5 separate regions of the Homo sapiens genome follow, and all the other regions are linked to region 1. The links are contacts of gene promoters, found by promoter capture Hi-C in blood cells and fetal thymus (Javierre and others, 2016). All regions are on one chromosome and are shown on one strand. Each heading gives the region's core, a stretch centred on a gene start or on the middle of the fragment in contact. The rest is flanking DNA. Distances are from core to core; before and after follow the strand shown.

Region 1 (3,291 bases), core at 207-2,706:
TTGGCCAGGCTGGTCTCGAACTCCTGATCTCAGGTGATCCGCCCGCCTCGGCCTTCTAAAGTGCTAGGATTACAGGCGTGAGCCACCACACCCTGCCTAATTTTTTTTGGTTTTCCAATAAGCACTGTGGTGTATGTGCTGTTAACTGTCTCCGGTGGACTCCGCAAGCTCGATGTACACAGTGCTGGGCTGGTGCCATGGCTGCTACTCTATGAAAAGTTTTTGACATCACACTGAATGGCTGAGACACTATAAACATTTTACTTTTCAACTCAACCTCGTGTCCTAGCAAAGGTGCTTTATCTAGTTTCTGTAGCTGTTCGAATGAAAGGCACAAATTTGGTGAGCTGCTGAGAATGGAGCAGACCTGGCACGGTGTGATCTAAGAGACTGGGGTGAACAGATGAATCAAGTTGCCTGTGACATTTGTGAGACACGGTGCTAGTATTCACCTTACTGTCTGGAGGGCCCAACCTCAAAGCCACTAAACATATGACATTAGCCAAGTCCTCTGATCTCTCTAGACAGCAGTTTTCTCCTAAGACAAGACGGCTTTTTGGCTTGGCTGAAGTAAGCCAGGTGATTTTAAACAATGCATTAAGCTCTTCTGAAATCTAACAGCCTTGTTCCATGCTCCTCGCTATGGAGAAGAGAGCGCTGAGGGAAAGAGGCCCTGTAGTCTTTTGCCAATGGTGTCGGATGGGCTGCTCAGTCCCAGCACTTGAAAGTTGCAAACCTAGTCAAGAAAGTGCACACAGTACTTCGGATTTTTATGAGATATAATTACATTGACATGACGCCTCATGATTTACCCATGACTCGGGGGGTTTCCAAACTCCAAACACCTCCAGACTGGAGCCCGTCAATCAGCTTCCTCTTGCTTTTCGTGGACTCCCACTGTGGAAACCTGCTGGTGTTTTGCTGCGGTTTCATTTCCCTCTGCGGAGGAGCCAGGGCAACCTTGGCCAGACAGGCACCTAGCTGTGCCCTTCTTTCCAGGGCCTCTTCTCCACTCAGCTGACTCCCCTGGCCTGCCTAACGCTCCTGACTGAGACGGTTTTCCGGCTTCCTCTAACAGGTTGGCGGGAAGTTGATCTGCAAACGCGAGGCAAAGCAGGAGTGTCCTTATTCGGTAGGCCTCTGATGGGCCACCAGAGCCGTCCGAAAGTCCTAGCGGAGTGATTGACAGTGGCCATTTCAAAGCCTGAGTTCACCTTCTTTGCAACCACAATCACGACCCAGAATAAACTGCTTCCTGGAAGCCGGCTAGTTGCACCTGGCCTGAAGTCAGTCTCGGGACTGCCTCTCAGGACCCCAGACAGGGTTTCGGGTTCCCGCCTGGGTCACGTGTACGGAGGCTGCCAGTGCGCACTCAGCCCGGCCCGCCGGTCGCCACAGCAACACCAATCCCGGGTTCAAGCCCGCCTAGGAAGTGCGGTCCCCGCCTGACCGCCCCGGGCTTAAGGGAGCCTGGCTAGGCCGGCAGCCGGATGGTCCCGCAGCTCGGGGCCGGCCATGCTTCGCGGTCCGTGGCGCCAGCTTTGGCTCTTTTTCCTGCTGCTGCTCCCGGGCGCGCCTGAGCCCCGCGGCGCCTCCAGGCCGTGGGAGGGAACCGACGAGCCGGGCTCGGCCTGGGCCTGGCCGGGCTTCCAGCGCCTGCAGGAGCAGCTCAGGGCGGCGGGTGCCCTCTCCAAGCGGTACTGGACGCTCTTCAGCTGCCAGGTGTGGCCCGACGACTGTGACGAGGACGAGGAGGCAGCCACGGGGCCCCTGGGTAAGACCCCGTCCCCACGGTCCGCCGTTCGCTGCGGAGCAGAGTGCGATCCGGGCGCGGCTGTGGTCGCCTCGCTCCTGTCCGGGGCGACATCTGGGCCCGCAGTCCTGCTCTGCTCAGCCGCCGGTACCGGCTGTGGGCGGGGGCAGCCTCCGCGGAGCAGGGAGCCCCATCACCGCCCTTGCCCCACCCGCGTCCCCTGCGCACCCCCCTGGCGCCCGGCTTCCCGTCCCCCGCCTCCCCTGATCCCTGCGCTTTCCAGATTCTCTCGCACCGCCTGTGCCATCTCCCAGCCCACCCTGGCGTTATTCGAAGGTGTTGCTCTTGACAGCTCTAGGGAACGTCCGCTGTGGACATGCCTGGTGACTGCCGTCTCCCTTGCTGCTTTTGGACGCAGGGCTTGAGGACCGACAGTGGGCCGAGTCGGGGCTGGGAGTTAGAATCTGAGTTCTGGGTGTCCCTCTGTCCCTGACAAGTTGTGTGGCAAGGTTGCCGCATCACTGTAGAGCACCGGATGGTCTCCTCTCGGTCTCACAGCTCCTCCTTTTCCAGGCTGGCGCCTTCCTCTGTTGGGCCAGCGGTACCTGGACCTCCTGACCACGTGGTACTGCAGCTTCAAAGACTGCTGCCCTAGAGGGGATTGCAGAATCTCCAACAACTTTACAGGTTGGACCCCGCATGGCTTCAAGGGGCTAGGGATCTGTGGGGAGGGGAGGCAGTCCAGGGGAAATGGTTAGATGCAAGGGACCTTTCGTCATCCTGCCCAGCCTCCCGACAAGCAGGAACTGCCACAGTCTGACTGAAGTTTTGAGGGAGTACCAAATGCTTGAGTCAGGGAAGCCCCTTTTTAGCCTCTAGCTTAATAGCCCAGGCAAACTGAGCTGTTTGTCAGGCCCAGAGCACCTTGTTTCACTCTAAACAGAAACAGCTACCTCTCAGAGGGGGCTGGAACTATCCAGAGAGAACTGATCAGAAATTCTGGGTTGTGATTAAAAGTGTCCCTTTCTTTTCTTTTTTTTTTTTGAGACGGAGGCTTGCTCTGTCACCCACACTGGAGTGCAGTGGTGCGATCTCAGCTCACTGCACCCTCCGCCTCCTGGGTTCAAGCAATTTTCCTGCCTCAGCCTCCCGAGTAGCTGGGATTACAGGTGCCTGCCACCACGTCCGGCTAATTTCTGTATTTTTAGTAGAGGCGGGGGGGGGGGGGGGGGGCGGGTTTCACCATGTTGGCCAGGCCGGTCTCGAACTCCTGACCTTGTGATTTGCCTGCCTTGGCCTCCAAGAGTGCTGTGATTACAGGCGTGAGCCACTGTGCCATGGCAACCAGTATTTTCTAATTAGTTTGGGTTGCTTGATTTGCATATCGCAGTTGATTTGCATTTTCACTCTCACAAGGTGATCTTTGGCCCCATGTTCTGAAACCTGTTCAGACATTTGCAAAAGCTTCCTCTCTTTTCCCCAGGAGCAATTTCTTGCCCAGAGTTCTCCTGATCCCAGGTCCTTCAATCTCCATAAAT
Region 2 (3,291 bases), core at 528-3,027, 230 kb after region 1:
TGATAATAGGCGTGAGCCAGCACGCCTGGAGTCTGGTGTTTTTTTTAGGGTAGCAAAGCATGTCATAATTTTACAAAAATTTTCATCAAAACTGGTTAAAATAAGATTTTTGACATGTCAAGGAATAAATTTTAAACATTCCCATTAAGTATAGCAGGTTTTAAAAGAGATAGCATTTATTCATGAAGATAAGTATTGCAAGCCTGATTTTTTTAGAAATCAGAAATTTAAGGGAAAAAATGTTGAATAGTTTTCCTTATGGACTTATGCGGGGTTCTATTAAGTTTCAGATAGCAAATAACTGACTCCTAGTGTTAGCAGTTAGTGTGTTACTAGAGGGAGGCAAATGATTCCGAAATTACATCACCCTCAGTCCTGGCTTATCATTGTTTCAGGGTCAGTGTTTTAGAAATTGAGAAGCCTTGAGTTGAGTGCTTGTAAATAGTTCTTCAAATCATTGGATGTGGGTGGGGATGGTGGCTCATCCTTGTAATCCCAACAGTTTCAGAGGCCAAGGCATGAGGATTGCTGGAGGCCAGGAGTTCAAGACCAGCCTGGGCAACATAGCGAGGCTCTGCCTTTACAAAAAAATTTTTTTTAATTAGGTGGGTGTGGTGGCATGTGAGTGTGGTGGCATGTGCCTGTAGTCCTAGGTACTTGGGAGGCTGAGGCGGGAGGATCCCTTGAGCCTAGGAGTTCCAGGCCACAGTGAGCTATGATCATGCCATAGCCACTGCCCCCTAGCCTGAGCAACAGAGTGAGAACCTGTCTTAAAAAAAAAAAAGCAGTGGATATTAGCTTTTAGGCATTCTTTTGACTTTGACATCTAATTTTTAAATTTTAAATTGTAGAAAGTTAAGAATTTCTTTGTAATATTGTATGAAGAGGTATTTTGAAGGTAAAGGAAAATGAATTAGCATTTTAAAATATATTTTTCTTCCACTTACTTAACTTTGTCATTTTCAGTGGGGTCTTCAGAGACTCTGTGAACAAATCTTTTTTCTAACTTTCCAGTGGCTGCATCTCAAAGCCTGTTTGTAATGATGGCTGTCGTGTTATTTATGGATAGACAGATTCTTTTTGGAAGGGATGCACAAGTAGTGAGAATTAATCTTTTACAGTCTCCTTACCAATCCTCCTCTCCCATGGTAGCTGAATTAGTTGAAGGAAAGAAGCTTTTGTCTTCATTTTTTTATGAAATAGTTCATTTATGAAACCATGGTCTGGTCATAGAACTAAATTAAAAATATATTCTTTAACTTATTGAAAAATCAAATGGACATTTGTCTTACCCTTATATTTCTTAATCAGTTACCAATTTGTAAATATCTTAAATTAATCCTCTGCTCTCCATTCTCCTTGCCATTTACAACATCACTTTTTGTCCGGATTTATTGCATTTCTCTGTTATGTGGTCCTTTCCATCTTCCAATATCAGCTCAGTATTTTCCTGCATAAAATTCTTAGTTTCCTCAAAGCCCTTGTTATTATATGACCTAGCCTTCTTCCCAGTCATCAATTCTGCCATTATCGATAATTGAAGACATTCCACTGTCTCCTGGCTTCCATTGATGTTAAGTCAGGTATGCGTTGTAATTGCAGTACTTGCGTAGTTGATATTCTTTCTGGGTGCTTTTAGTTTTTTTTTTTAACCCCTGCGTCAGACAGTTTCACTGTGATATATCTAAGTCGATTATTATTATTATTTTTTCTTTTGAGATGGAGTTTCACTCTTGTTGCCCAGGCTGGAGTGCAATGGTATGATCTCGGCTCACCGCAACCTCCACCTCCCGGGTTCAAGCGATACTCCTGCCTTAGCCTCTTGAGTAGCTGGGATTACAGGCATGTGCCACCACGCCAGCTAATTTTGTATTTTTAGTAGACAGGGCTTCTCCATGTTGGTCAGGCTGGTCTCAAACTGCCGACCTCAGGTGATCCACCTGCCTTGGCTTCCCACAGTGCTGGGATTACAGGCGTGAGCCACCACGCCTGGCACTAAGTAGATTATTTATCCTGCTTGGAATTCTTTGACTTTATCCTAGAATTTGTGTCTCTCAACAGTTCTGGCCAATTCTCAGCTATAATCACCTCAAATATTATCTCTCTGTATAGAGCTCTGATTAGATGCATTTTGTACCTTCTCATTCTTCATGTCTTTCTTCCAAGTGACATACTGTGAAAAGAAATGTCCAATAGAAGATTAAATTATATTTCTACCATAAAAACAGAGTAATAGGGCAGTGAAAATAATATACAAGAATATGTAATGACAGAGAAAAATGTTTACAATATATTAAGTGAAAAAAACAGGTTATAAAGCAGTATGTGTATGAGTTTGTTTTTATGTTTTTATGGTTTGTTTTTAAGGGAAGGGGTTATTAAGCTTAAATTACCCCAAATATGCCTCCAAAGTTCATTTTGGCAAAGTAAATATTTCTGTTCAGTGTATTTTTTCTGGGAAATTACTTTTATAAATTTGAATGGCTTTTAATCTTCCTTTTTAGGCAAAATATACAATAGCAATTGTCAATGCTGAAATAAAAATACTTAAGCTGGCCTGGCGCGGTGGCTCACGCCTATAATCCTAGCACTTTGGAAGGCCGAGGCGGGCGGATCACGAGGTCAGGAGATCGAGACCATCCTGGCTAACACAGTGAAACCCTGTCTCTAGTAAAAATACAAAAAATTAGCCGGGCGTGGTGGCGGGCGCCTGTAGTCCCAGCTACTTGGGATGCTGAGGCAGGAGAATGGTGTGAACCCAGGAGGCGGAGCTTGCAGTGAGCCGAGATCGCGCCACTACCCTCCAGCCTGGGTGACAGAGCGAGACTCCGTCTCAAAAAAAAAAAAAAAAATACTTAAGCTATTACCATGTAGAGTAAATAAGAAAATACAAATTCTCAATTTTAAAAATTCATCTGCCAAAGTGATAGTTCATCATCATAGGTTTTTTTTTTTTTTTAACGAAGATAGCAAACTAGACGTTGTGGTTTTCTGTTTCACAGTTTTCAGTATTCATTCCATTCTGTTTCATTCACTTATCTGTGTAGGTCTGTGCACATAATGACGTCTGATGTTTCTCGGTTCCCATAATATAACAGATGACTTGACACTTTATTAAAAGGATAGAATAAAGATATTTAGTATCTCATTATTCACAAACTCATTTGTGAATAATGGCAGATGGCATTCAAAATTAACTCTACCCTGGGCTAAGCATGGTGACACATGCCTATAATCTCAGCATTTTGGGAGGCTGAGGCAGGAGGATTGTTTGAGGCCAGGAGTTAAGTC
Region 3 (3,291 bases), core at 435-2,934, 220 kb after region 1:
TCCTTCCTCCTAAAACTGTGCATGTAATCAAATCATAGCTATTAATGTCCCCCAATTGTGAAATATCCCATGTCCTGTCCTTTTCTTTTCTTTTTTGAGACGGAGTCCAGCTCTGTCACCCAGGCTGGAGTGCAGTGGCGCGATCTCGGCTCACTGCAACCTCCGCCTCCTGGGTTCAAGCAATTCTCTGCTTCGGCCTCCCGAGTAGCTGGGATTACAGGCACCTGCCATCACCCCTGGCTAATTTTTTGTATTTTTAGTAGAGACGGGGTTTCATCATCTTGGCCAGGCCAGTCTAGAATTCCTGACCTTGTGATCCACCCGCCTCAGCCTCCCAAAGTGCTGGGATTACAGGCGTGAGCCGGTGCGCTTGTTTAAGAAACAGTGGAAGGCCAAAGTAATGAGTAGAGAAAATGAGACAGCCAAGATCATGCCACTGCACTTCAACCTGGGCGACATGGCATGACTCCGTCTCAAAAAAAAAAAAAAAATGCCGGGCGCGGTGGCTCACACCTGTAATCCCAGCACTTTGGGAGGCCGAGGCAGGCGGATCACCTGAGGTTGGGAGTTCGACACCCCATCTCTACTAAAAATACAAAATTAGCTGGGTGTGGTGGCCTGTAACCCCAGCTGCTCCAGAGGCTGAGGCAGGAGAATCGCTTGAATCCAGGAGGCGGAGGTTGCGGTGAGCTGAGATCGTGCCATTGCACTCCAGTCTGACCAACAAGAGTGAAACTCTGTCTCAAAAAAAAAAAAAGATTGATGGTGTTTAAGGGGGTGGTGGTGAGTGGCAGGCAATGCAGAAGTTACTAGATCATGGTAAGGACTTAGGATGTTTGAAGGGGTTTAAGTTGTGAAGTGACTTGATCTAACTTGAGTGCAATGGTGTGATTGAGGTTCACTGCAACCTCCACCTCCGGGTTCAAGCGATTCTTCTGCCTCAGCCTCCTGAGTAGCTGGGACTACAGGTGCCTGCCACCACACCTGGCTAATTTTTTGTATTTTTAGTAGAGACGAGGTTTCACCGTGCTAGGCTAGCCAGGATGGTCTCGATCTCCTGACCTGGTGATCTGCCCACCTCGGCCTCCCAAAGTGCTGGGATTACAGATGTATTCCACCATGCCCGGCCCTGTTTTAGCTTTTGATGTAAGGTTTCCTCTAGAGTAGCTTGATGGTTGAGGAACCATCTTATTACCAAGGACTCCCTTTTTATATTTCTTCTTTTGGAGACAGGGTTTCACTCTGTTGTCTGGGCTGGAGTGCAGAGGTGCGACCTGTGCTCACTGCAACCTTCGCCTCCTGGGTTCAAGTGATTTTCCTGCCTCAGCCTCCTGAGTAGATGGGATTACAGGTGCTTGCCACCACGCCGGGCTAAATGTTTTTTGGGTAGTTTTAGCCTAGTGTACCTTAAATATGCTCCAAACACTTAATATTAGCCTACAGTTGGGCAAAATTATTGAACACAGACTATTTTACAATAAAGTGTTCATTATCTCATGTAATTTATTGAATACTATACTGAAAGTGAAAAACAGAATAGTTGTATGAGTACTCAAAATATGATTTCCACAGAATGCATGTTGCTTTTGCACCATCATAAAGTTGAAAAATTTTAAATTGAACCATCATAAGTTGGGGACTGTCTTGTGCTTAGAATAATTGGTTACATATTAACTGATACATTTGCTTTCTTTCTTAATGCCTGCCTGTTGTACTCCAGGTACTCCACACTAGATTTGGGGGAGTCTTACAGAAAATACTATGTAATCCCTATCTTTGAGAACTTAAGCCTAATGTAAGAGACAGAGAGTATTGCTCTCTGATTATAGGACAATGTAACATGTGACAGGATGCTCAGTGTAGTGGGACCGCAGAGAGGATGAGATGAGAGGTGGTGGTAAAGGAAACTTCAGAGGGTGAGTTGGAGGCGGTTTAGCGATTAGAGGGCAGGTTGTAGAATCTGATAGTCTTTGTTTTGAATTCTAGTTCTGCTGTTGGAGAATTATTTGATTTGGGACAAGTTAAATCACTTCCCTAAACTCATCTGTAAAATGAGGATAATACTTATCTAAGGTTGTAAAGATTAAATGTAATGTAAAAAGTTTAGCAGCACAGTGCCTAGAGGTACATAATAGGTGCTCATTAAATCAGAACTGTTGGTATTAATTCTATTACTGCTGTAGCTGTGATTCTTTGAAGGCTTGAGTAGGAGTTAGCTACATAAAAAAAGGGCAGAGGAGAAATAGCTTTCTATAGACAGGGAAGAGTATATGGGACACTATGGTGGCCAAAGAATATTTGGAAAATAACAATAGTATCTGTCTTGATTCTGTTGAGATGAAAATAATACATGTAAAACACATAAGCACTAAAAAAAATCAGCTGTTATTATTCTACTTTGAGAAATATTGCATTGTGCTATACTGTTTCATATGGCTTGGGTAATAAACTTTAATCTGGCATTTATTTTTTAATCATTTTGCTATCTTTTTTTTTTTTTTTTTTTTTTTTTTGAGACGGAGTCTTGCTCTGTTGCCCAGGCTGGAGTACAGTGGTGTGATCTCAGCTCACTGCAAGCTCCGCCTCCTGGGTTCATGCCATTCTCCTGCCTCAGCCTCCCGAGTAGCTGGGACTACAGGCGCCTGCCCCCATGCCCAGCTAATTTTTTTTTTTTTTGTATTTTTCGTAGAGATGGGGTTTCACTGTATTAGCCAGGATGGTCTTGATCTCCTGACTTCATGATCTGCCCACCTCAGCCTCCCAAAGTGCTGGGATTACAGGCATGAGCCACCGCACCCGGCTTCATTTTGCTGTCTTTTATGCTTTAAACTTTTGCTATATGCTCTTTAAAAGAGTATCTACTTTAAATTCCCCATCATCTGGCCAGAAAAAAAAAGTCTCTGTTCATCTGGCCAGAAAAAAAAAAATTCCCATTATTCCTTGTAAAATTCCTCTCTTACTGAAACATCTTGGTTCCTTTTGTGTCTTTCTTTTTCTTCCCTGATTTCCTCTACTTTGAGGCTGTCCCTCAAAGTTTAGTTTTCAGTTCTTACTTCTCTCATCATTTCTGATGAAGAGATAGATGCTCTTGTGGCTTCCTCTGTCACTTTTACACAGAATTGGACCATTGTAAGTTGGGCATCGTCTTGTGATTTATTAGCCCTGACTTTTCCCTTAAGTTCCTCTTAATTAGATCTTATGATATCATAACATTTCTACTTGATATATTCATCTGCTGTTCCACAATTGTTTCATTTGTTTGATTTCAGAAATAATTAGAAGAAAGCCGAT
Region 4 (3,291 bases), core at 325-2,824, 180 kb after region 1:
AATTCCTTATTTATAAAAACCAATGTTCATACATAAAAGTTCCCAACTCAGTGGATATGATGAGGAAAACTATTAGATTAAAAGAATTAATATTAAGTTGTGAATAAATCTACAGCTCATTTTACAGAAATGTAATTGGTGGAATTTCAGACTTAATAGCAACGTAAAAAAATTTTAGGGGGTGCAGGGAAATTTAGGAAGGTACAAGTCACTTAAAGGGCCTGTCTGCTTTATAGCCTTGCTGCTTAAAGTGTGGTCCTAGGACCAATAGCAATGAAATCAGCTGGGAGCTTGTTAGAAATAAGAACCTCAGTTCCACGTGTCAAAATTTGCATTTTAACAAGATAGGGGAAACTCGGGGTAGTTTGTACGTATGTTAAAGTTTGAGAAGCACTGGTTTATAGTATTCCAAGTAGGCAAACACCTTTTCTCCTCTTTAATTTAAAGCGTGGTCAGCTATTGCTTATGAGGATCTGTAGTCAGTGAAGACCAATTTGATGTTTCTAAGCAGCCTTCCAATTGTTGACCCAAGGGCATAATTGCCACAAATACTCTATTATAATTTAATACATTTGGGGGGAAGAAGCATTCCAAAAAGCTTTTTTAACTCAGTGTTGAAGGGATGTACAGCAACTGAAAATTAGAAAACTGTCTAGGATACACAAGTACAGTAGTGAAACCAGAAATCAATGGCTGAATAAAGGATTTCAACCTGTATGACAATCTAAAGCAAATACAACTGTTAAATAAAATTTATGGGAGGCCATTGTTTTGGACTGAGCTTCTGCACTGGCCCAACAGACCAGGCCAAACCAGAATGGAGTCACTGAAACTAAGTGCCATATAATCAACTGAACTTTGAAATTGTCAGTTAAAACCAACCAACCAGGAGATTCACAGCAACCAATCAGAAGGGGCCCAGTTTACCTGACCAAGCATGTTAGAAAGTTCCCTCTGTTTTAACCCTATAAGAAAAGTAGCTGAAAGACCAATCTCCCTTTTGTTATCTTTCTACTTTCTTCAGTGCTTTTTTGCCTATAAAGCCAATCCCCTCTTATCAGCTCCGTGAAACGCCATTCTTTTATGTAGGATGAGATGTTACCTGTTTCTTGAATTGCAGATGAAAGTCAATTAGATATTTAAACTAATTTTTTTTTTGGTAACTTTGTCTTTTGAAGCAAGAATGGAATCACTACACAGTTGCTAGGACTGCTATTGAGAAGTAGAGGAGGAAGTTAATGTTGTGTTTATGTTAAATGTATTAACAAAGGTAGCCAATCCAATCCAATTAATTCCACAAGGTCTTTTTCAACTTCCATCTCCTATCTTGTATGAAGCCTTTTCTGCTTCTTTCTATACATCCGCCTTTATTAGGTGATCAACTGTCCTGGTTATCTTAGGACTATCCTGGTTTTCTCACTGGAGGTTCTGCATCCCAGGAGATCCCTCAGTCTCCAGCAAACCAGGACGATTGGTCACTCTACCTGCACTCCTAGCTAGAAATACTGCTTCTGACTTTTAACTTCTTTAGCTCTCTGAACTCTCACCATTTATTTAGCACCTGTCATATTTTGCTTTACATCATAATTATTTGCGTACAAGAAATGTTTCTGAGATTTGCTTACAAATTACTTCAGGGTAGAACTGCGTCTTTCATCATTTCCTTTGTTCCATGCAGCATTAATCCAGTGTTAGATTTGTAGGAGTCACTCAACAGTTTGAATGAAGGAATCTACTTGAAAAAAATAACTATTGCCAATTGGAACTATGCCTGCCATGGAGTTTCAATCTATTGAATCACAAAAGTGACAGTTTGGAAATCCAAATAGTCTTATATTCCTATTTTTGCATTTAGGACTATTTTAAATGTGGCTTCAATCCAACCTTTCACTCCTCCACTGTGTTCCTTGAACATGATTAATGCAAGAATATCCAGGGGGTAAAAGAAATCAAAAGATAAGCATTTTCCCAGAGAGTAGTGTTTACTTAAAGATTTTATTTTTTTAGTGGGGGTGTGTGAATGTCTGCACAATTAATATGTTTTGTCAGATTTTTCATTTGGGGCAGTATGAAAGATTAGGTGTCCAGAAAAATCCTCCTGGCATGCAACCCCTAAAAATGATGGAATACACGCACACACACACACACACACACATCACACACATACAAATGGTTAAAAGATAAACTTGACCACATTAATATTTTAATGAGTTTACTTGAGCATTCAGCAATGCATGAGTGGGGCAGCACCAGCCTGCAAGCAGTGAAGTGATCCAAGGGGAATGAGAGACAAACTTTTATGACGTGTTTGTGGAAGCAAGACAAATAAAATATATTTGATTGGTTAACGTGGAAATCCCTAGTTAGAAGTTAATTGATGGCTTCTGATTGGTTAGGCTTAAGTTTTCTTTTGCCATTTACATTGAACTTTGGTTTGCTTGGGTAGGAACCCAAGGTGCTGAAGCCATCTCAGCCTAATGGCCTCCCAATTAAACCATATGTGTGTGTGTTTACACACACACACACACACACACACACACGCACACTCAAAAAGCTTTAATATGTATGGCTCAGTTGGTAGGAAGACTTGAAATCAACAGTGCACTCAAATGTTAATATTTGCTCTGGGGGCATTTGTCTACATGGGTGGCCTAATGCTTGGGTTCTAGTAGATTCAGTGAGCAGGGGAGAAAACTAAGACTTAGCCCTTTATGGTGCAAGATTGGATGGAAGCCCCTGCATGGATTTGGGAACCGCCCCCCGCCCCCCACAAAGATACTTCACTTCAGCAGGTAAATTTAAAAAAAAATGGCAGGATTTGTCAGGGATGCTTGTCTGTCTCAACTTAAGTTTTGTCAGAGGAAAAATATGTTTTTATGAAAGTTCCTAACCATGCAAAACAACAACAACAACAACAACAACAAAAGCAAATCCCTAAAATCCCTAGATACAAATTTAAAGTGGCCTTAGATTGGTACTGCTCCACCTGGCAGAATTACCTGGGAGAGCAAATTCAAATACTCTCTGGAAGAAGGTGCTTTAAACCTGGACCTCAGAGAAATCCCAAGGAATATGAATGTATATTGGTAACTCTATGTTTAACTTTTTGAACAACTGCCAAATTATTCTCCAAAGGGGCTATATTATATTACATTCCCACCAACAATGTAAGAAGGTTCCAATTTCTCTACATCTTCACCAACACTTGTTACTGTCTGTTTATTATAGACATTTTAGTGGCTGTGAAATGTTATTTTATGGTTTTTATTTGTATTTCCCTAATGACTAATG
Region 5 (3,291 bases), core at 307-2,806, 160 kb after region 1:
CCCAGTCTGTGGTATCCTGTTACAGCAGTACAATATGGACGAAGACAATGTATGATTTGTTTACTTGTGCCCTGAATGTTTGTGTCCTCCAAAATTCCTATGTTGAAACCTAATCCCCAGTGCAATAGTATTAAGAGGTGGTGCTTTTAGGGGATGATTAGGTCATGAAGACTAGCCCTCATTAATGTGATTAACACCTTATAAAGGGCCTGAGTAAGCTGCTGGATTCTTCTGCGACATGAGGACACAACAAGAAGATGCCATCTATGAAGCCAAGAGTGAGCCCTCATCAGACACTAAATCTACTGGCCCCACGATCTTGGACTTCCTAGTCTCCAGAGCTGGGAGCAGTAAATACCTGCTGTTTATTTATTTATTTATTTTTATTTTTTTGAGACAAAGTTTCACTCTGTCGCCCAGGCTGGAGTGCAGCGGCGCAATCTCGGCTCACTGCTACTTCCACCTCCTAGGTTCAAGTGATTCTCCTGCCTCAACCTCCCAAGTAGCTGAGACTACAGGCGCCCGTCACTACACCTGACTAATTTTTGTATTTTTAGTAGAAATGGGGTTTCACCATGTTGGCCACACTGGTCTCAAATCCCTGACCTCAGGTGATCCGCCCACCTTGGCCTCCCAAAGTGCTAGGATCACAGGCGTAAGCCACCACTCCTGGCCCTGTTCTTTATTTTATTTTATTTTATTTTTTACTTTTAAGACAGAGTCTCACTCTGTCACCCAGGCTGGAGTGCAGTGGTGCAATCTCAGCTTGCTGCAAGCTCCGCCTCCCAGGTTCATGCCATTCTCCTGCCTCAGCCTCCGGAGTAGCTGGGACTATAGGCGCCCGCCACCACGCCCGGCTACTTTTTTGTATATTTTTTAGTAGAGACGGGGTTTCACCGTGTTAGTCAGGATGGTCTCGATCTCCTGACCTCGTGATCCGCCCGCCTCGGCCTCCCAAAGTGCTGGGATTACAGGCGTGAGCCACCGTGCCCGGCCCATGTTGTTTATAAATTACCCCAGTCTAAGGCATCTTTTTATAGCAGCTCAAACAGGCTAAGACAATAATAAAAGTTTTTGGTGAGTTTTCAATTTTCTTAAGACATGTAGAAACACTCAATGAGACTTTTGACAGAAATGGAAGAAGGTAGCCTATTTAGACATGTGCCTATAAGATGACTATCATTGATGCCTGCCATAGAAAATATTGACTTGCCATAACATCATATTTTCAAAGTATAGGATGAGAAGAATGTTCATTTCTAACTTGCAAATTATTCTGAAGATGAGAATGGAGAAAAGGATTACAGTAAAACAGAAATTTATGTGCCATTTCTCCAAAACTATTTGATGATCTTTAAAGAGGCCTAAGTAGCCTTAAAGCGGGGAAGGGTATGAATGGAACACCCCGAGTTGCTCACTGTTACATGTAGGTTGCAACAAAAAATCACAATGGAAAAAAAAGACTCATTTTTTTTAGAAATAAGCCCCCTTCAGAACTTAAAAAAAAAAAAAAAAGAGGTCGGGCACAGTGGCTCACACCTGTAATCCCAGCATTTTGGGAGGCTGAGGCAGGTGGATCAATTGAGGTCAGGAGCTCGAGACCAGCCTGACCAACATGGTGAAACCCCATCTCTACTGAAAATACAAAAAATTAGCCAGATGTGGTGTTGAGCACCTGTAATCTCAGCTACCTGAGAGGCTGACTCAGGAGACTATCACTTGAACCCAGGAGGCAGAGGTTGCAGTGAGCCAAGATTGTGCCACTGCACTCCAGCCTGAGTGACAGAGTGAAACTCCGTCTCAAAAGAAAAAAGAAAAAAGTGTCACCAGGAAAGGATAGCCAAGTTAAACAAGACTTTCAATTTCAGTACTAAAACTGTAACTTGGGCTGTGTGCAGTGGCTCACACCTGTAATCTCAGCACTTTGAGAGGCTGAGGCAGGCAGATCACTTGAGCCCAGGAGTTCAAGACCAGCCTGGGCAACATGGTGAAACCCTATCTCCATAAAAAATCCAAAAAGTTAGCCGGGTATGGTGGTGTGTGCCTGTAGTCCCAGCTACCTGGGAGGCTGAGGTGAGAGGATCATCTGAGCCCAGGAGGTTGGGGCTGCAGTGAGCTGTGATTGGACTACTGCACTCCAGCCTGGGGACAGAGTAAGACCCTGTCTCATAAAATAAAATAAAATAAAATAAAATAAAATAAAATAAAATAAAATAAAATAAAATAAAATAAAACTGTAATTTATTTGCAATTCAACTTCAATTTCACGGGTTCAAATTACCTCTGTGCTTTAAAATCATTTCCCCTGAGAAAGAGAGGTTTAACTTATGATGATATCCAATGTGCTTCAGAGTGTATAGTCTGTTTCTCTTTTCCTTGAATCTGGACTGGTCCTGTGGTTTGCTTTGACCAATGAATATGGCAGAATTGACTCTGATTTTGGAGCCTACGTCATAAAACACCTTTCATCTTCTATCTTCTACACCTGTAAGACTCCCACTTGAAATACAGCTGAAAGGTTCAAAACAAGATTTACCTGTAAAATTTAAGATGAGAATATTGACCATCAGTTTCAAAATTATTTCCTGAATTAATAAGTATAATAACCTAAGTTAATATATAGGAATCTCTTATATAGGACTATATGATAGAAATGGAAGAAACTGATGGAGAAATAAGTAATCCTAAGATGTTAGGCAAGTTAGGCAGCAGGAAAAAAGGGCCTACTGAATGCTAATAATAAACTTTAGTTTCTTGATACAATCACCATTTAAAAATTAGAATCATTAAAATAATTTCTGAACCCATAATTGGTATAAATTTTTCTTTTTTCTTTTCTTTTTTTTTTTTTTTTTTTGAGTCAGAGTCTCGCTCTGTTGCCCAGGCTGGAGTGCAGTGGCACAATCTTGGCTCACTGCAACCTCCATCTCCTGGGTTCAAGTGCTCTCCTGCCTCAGCCTCCTGAGTAGCTGGGATTACAGGCATGTGCCACCATGCCCGGCTAATTTTTGTATTTTTAGTAGAAACGGGGTTTTTCCACGTTGGCCAGTCTGGTATCAAACTTTTGACCTCAGATGATCCGCCCACCTCAGCCTCCCAAAGTGCTGGGATTACAGGCTTGAGCCACTGTGCCAGCCTGGCATAAATTTTTCTACTAAATTAGAGGAAGGTAACATGGAACTGTATGACCCTTGAAGCATCAGAAAATCTCACTGGGACTGAGTTTCTTGCACTGTAAAATGATACTTTGGTTAGATAACTAGAATACTATTGGAAAATTTAATTACAATC

The links. Contacts are between HindIII fragments. The CHiCAGO score rates a contact against its expected background, and 5 or more counts as called.
Region 2: a fragment that was not itself captured here is called in contact with the fragment with the promoter of TOR3A in region 1 in 13 of 17 cell types (naive CD4 T cells, total CD8 T cells, monocytes and 10 more); the score reaches 12.1 in naive CD4 T cells.
Region 3: a fragment that was not itself captured here is called in contact with the fragment with the promoter of TOR3A in region 1 in 17 of 17 cell types (naive CD8 T cells, non-activated CD4 T cells, monocytes and 14 more); the score reaches 13.4 in naive CD8 T cells.
Region 4: a contact is called between a fragment that was not itself captured here and the fragment with the promoter of TOR3A in region 1, in 1 of 17 cell types (non-activated CD4 T cells). The highest score is 5.4, in non-activated CD4 T cells.
Region 5: a contact is called between a fragment that was not itself captured here and the fragment with the promoter of TOR3A in region 1, in 1 of 17 cell types (non-activated CD4 T cells). The highest score is 5.4, in non-activated CD4 T cells.

Annotation. Positions count from the first base shown.
Region 1 is chr1:179,080,614-179,083,904 of GRCh38, forward strand. TOR3A (torsin family 3 member A) reads left to right here and starts at 1,457. Exons shown (of 6, transcript NM_022371.4): 1 at 1,457-1,774; 2 at 2,327-2,440. The coding sequence starts at 1,516. RefSeq lists silencers at 1,432-1,721, 1,862-2,031, 3,022-3,081. The HindIII fragment of the contact is 9,470 bases long and covers 1-3,215 here.
Region 2 is chr1:179,314,698-179,317,988 of GRCh38, forward strand. The region is part of intron 2 of SOAT1 (sterol O-acyltransferase 1); the gene reads left to right. Among named protein-coding and RNA genes, the nearest start is that of SOAT1, 23 kb to the left of the region's middle. The HindIII fragment of the contact is 1,208 bases long and covers 1,174-2,381 here.
Region 3 is chr1:179,297,259-179,300,549 of GRCh38, forward strand. All of the region lies in intron 1 of SOAT1 (sterol O-acyltransferase 1), which reads left to right. Among named protein-coding and RNA genes, the nearest start is that of SOAT1, 5.1 kb to the left of the region's middle. The HindIII fragment of the contact is 7,420 bases long and covers 1-3,291 here.
Region 4 is chr1:179,262,484-179,265,774 of GRCh38, forward strand. No RefSeq gene overlaps it. Among named protein-coding and RNA genes, the nearest start is that of SOAT1, 30 kb to the right of the region's middle. The HindIII fragment of the contact is 1,956 bases long and covers 597-2,552 here.
Region 5 is chr1:179,243,785-179,247,075 of GRCh38, forward strand. No RefSeq gene overlaps it. Among named protein-coding and RNA genes, the nearest start is that of ABL2, 16 kb to the left of the region's middle. The HindIII fragment of the contact is 3,685 bases long and covers 1-3,291 here.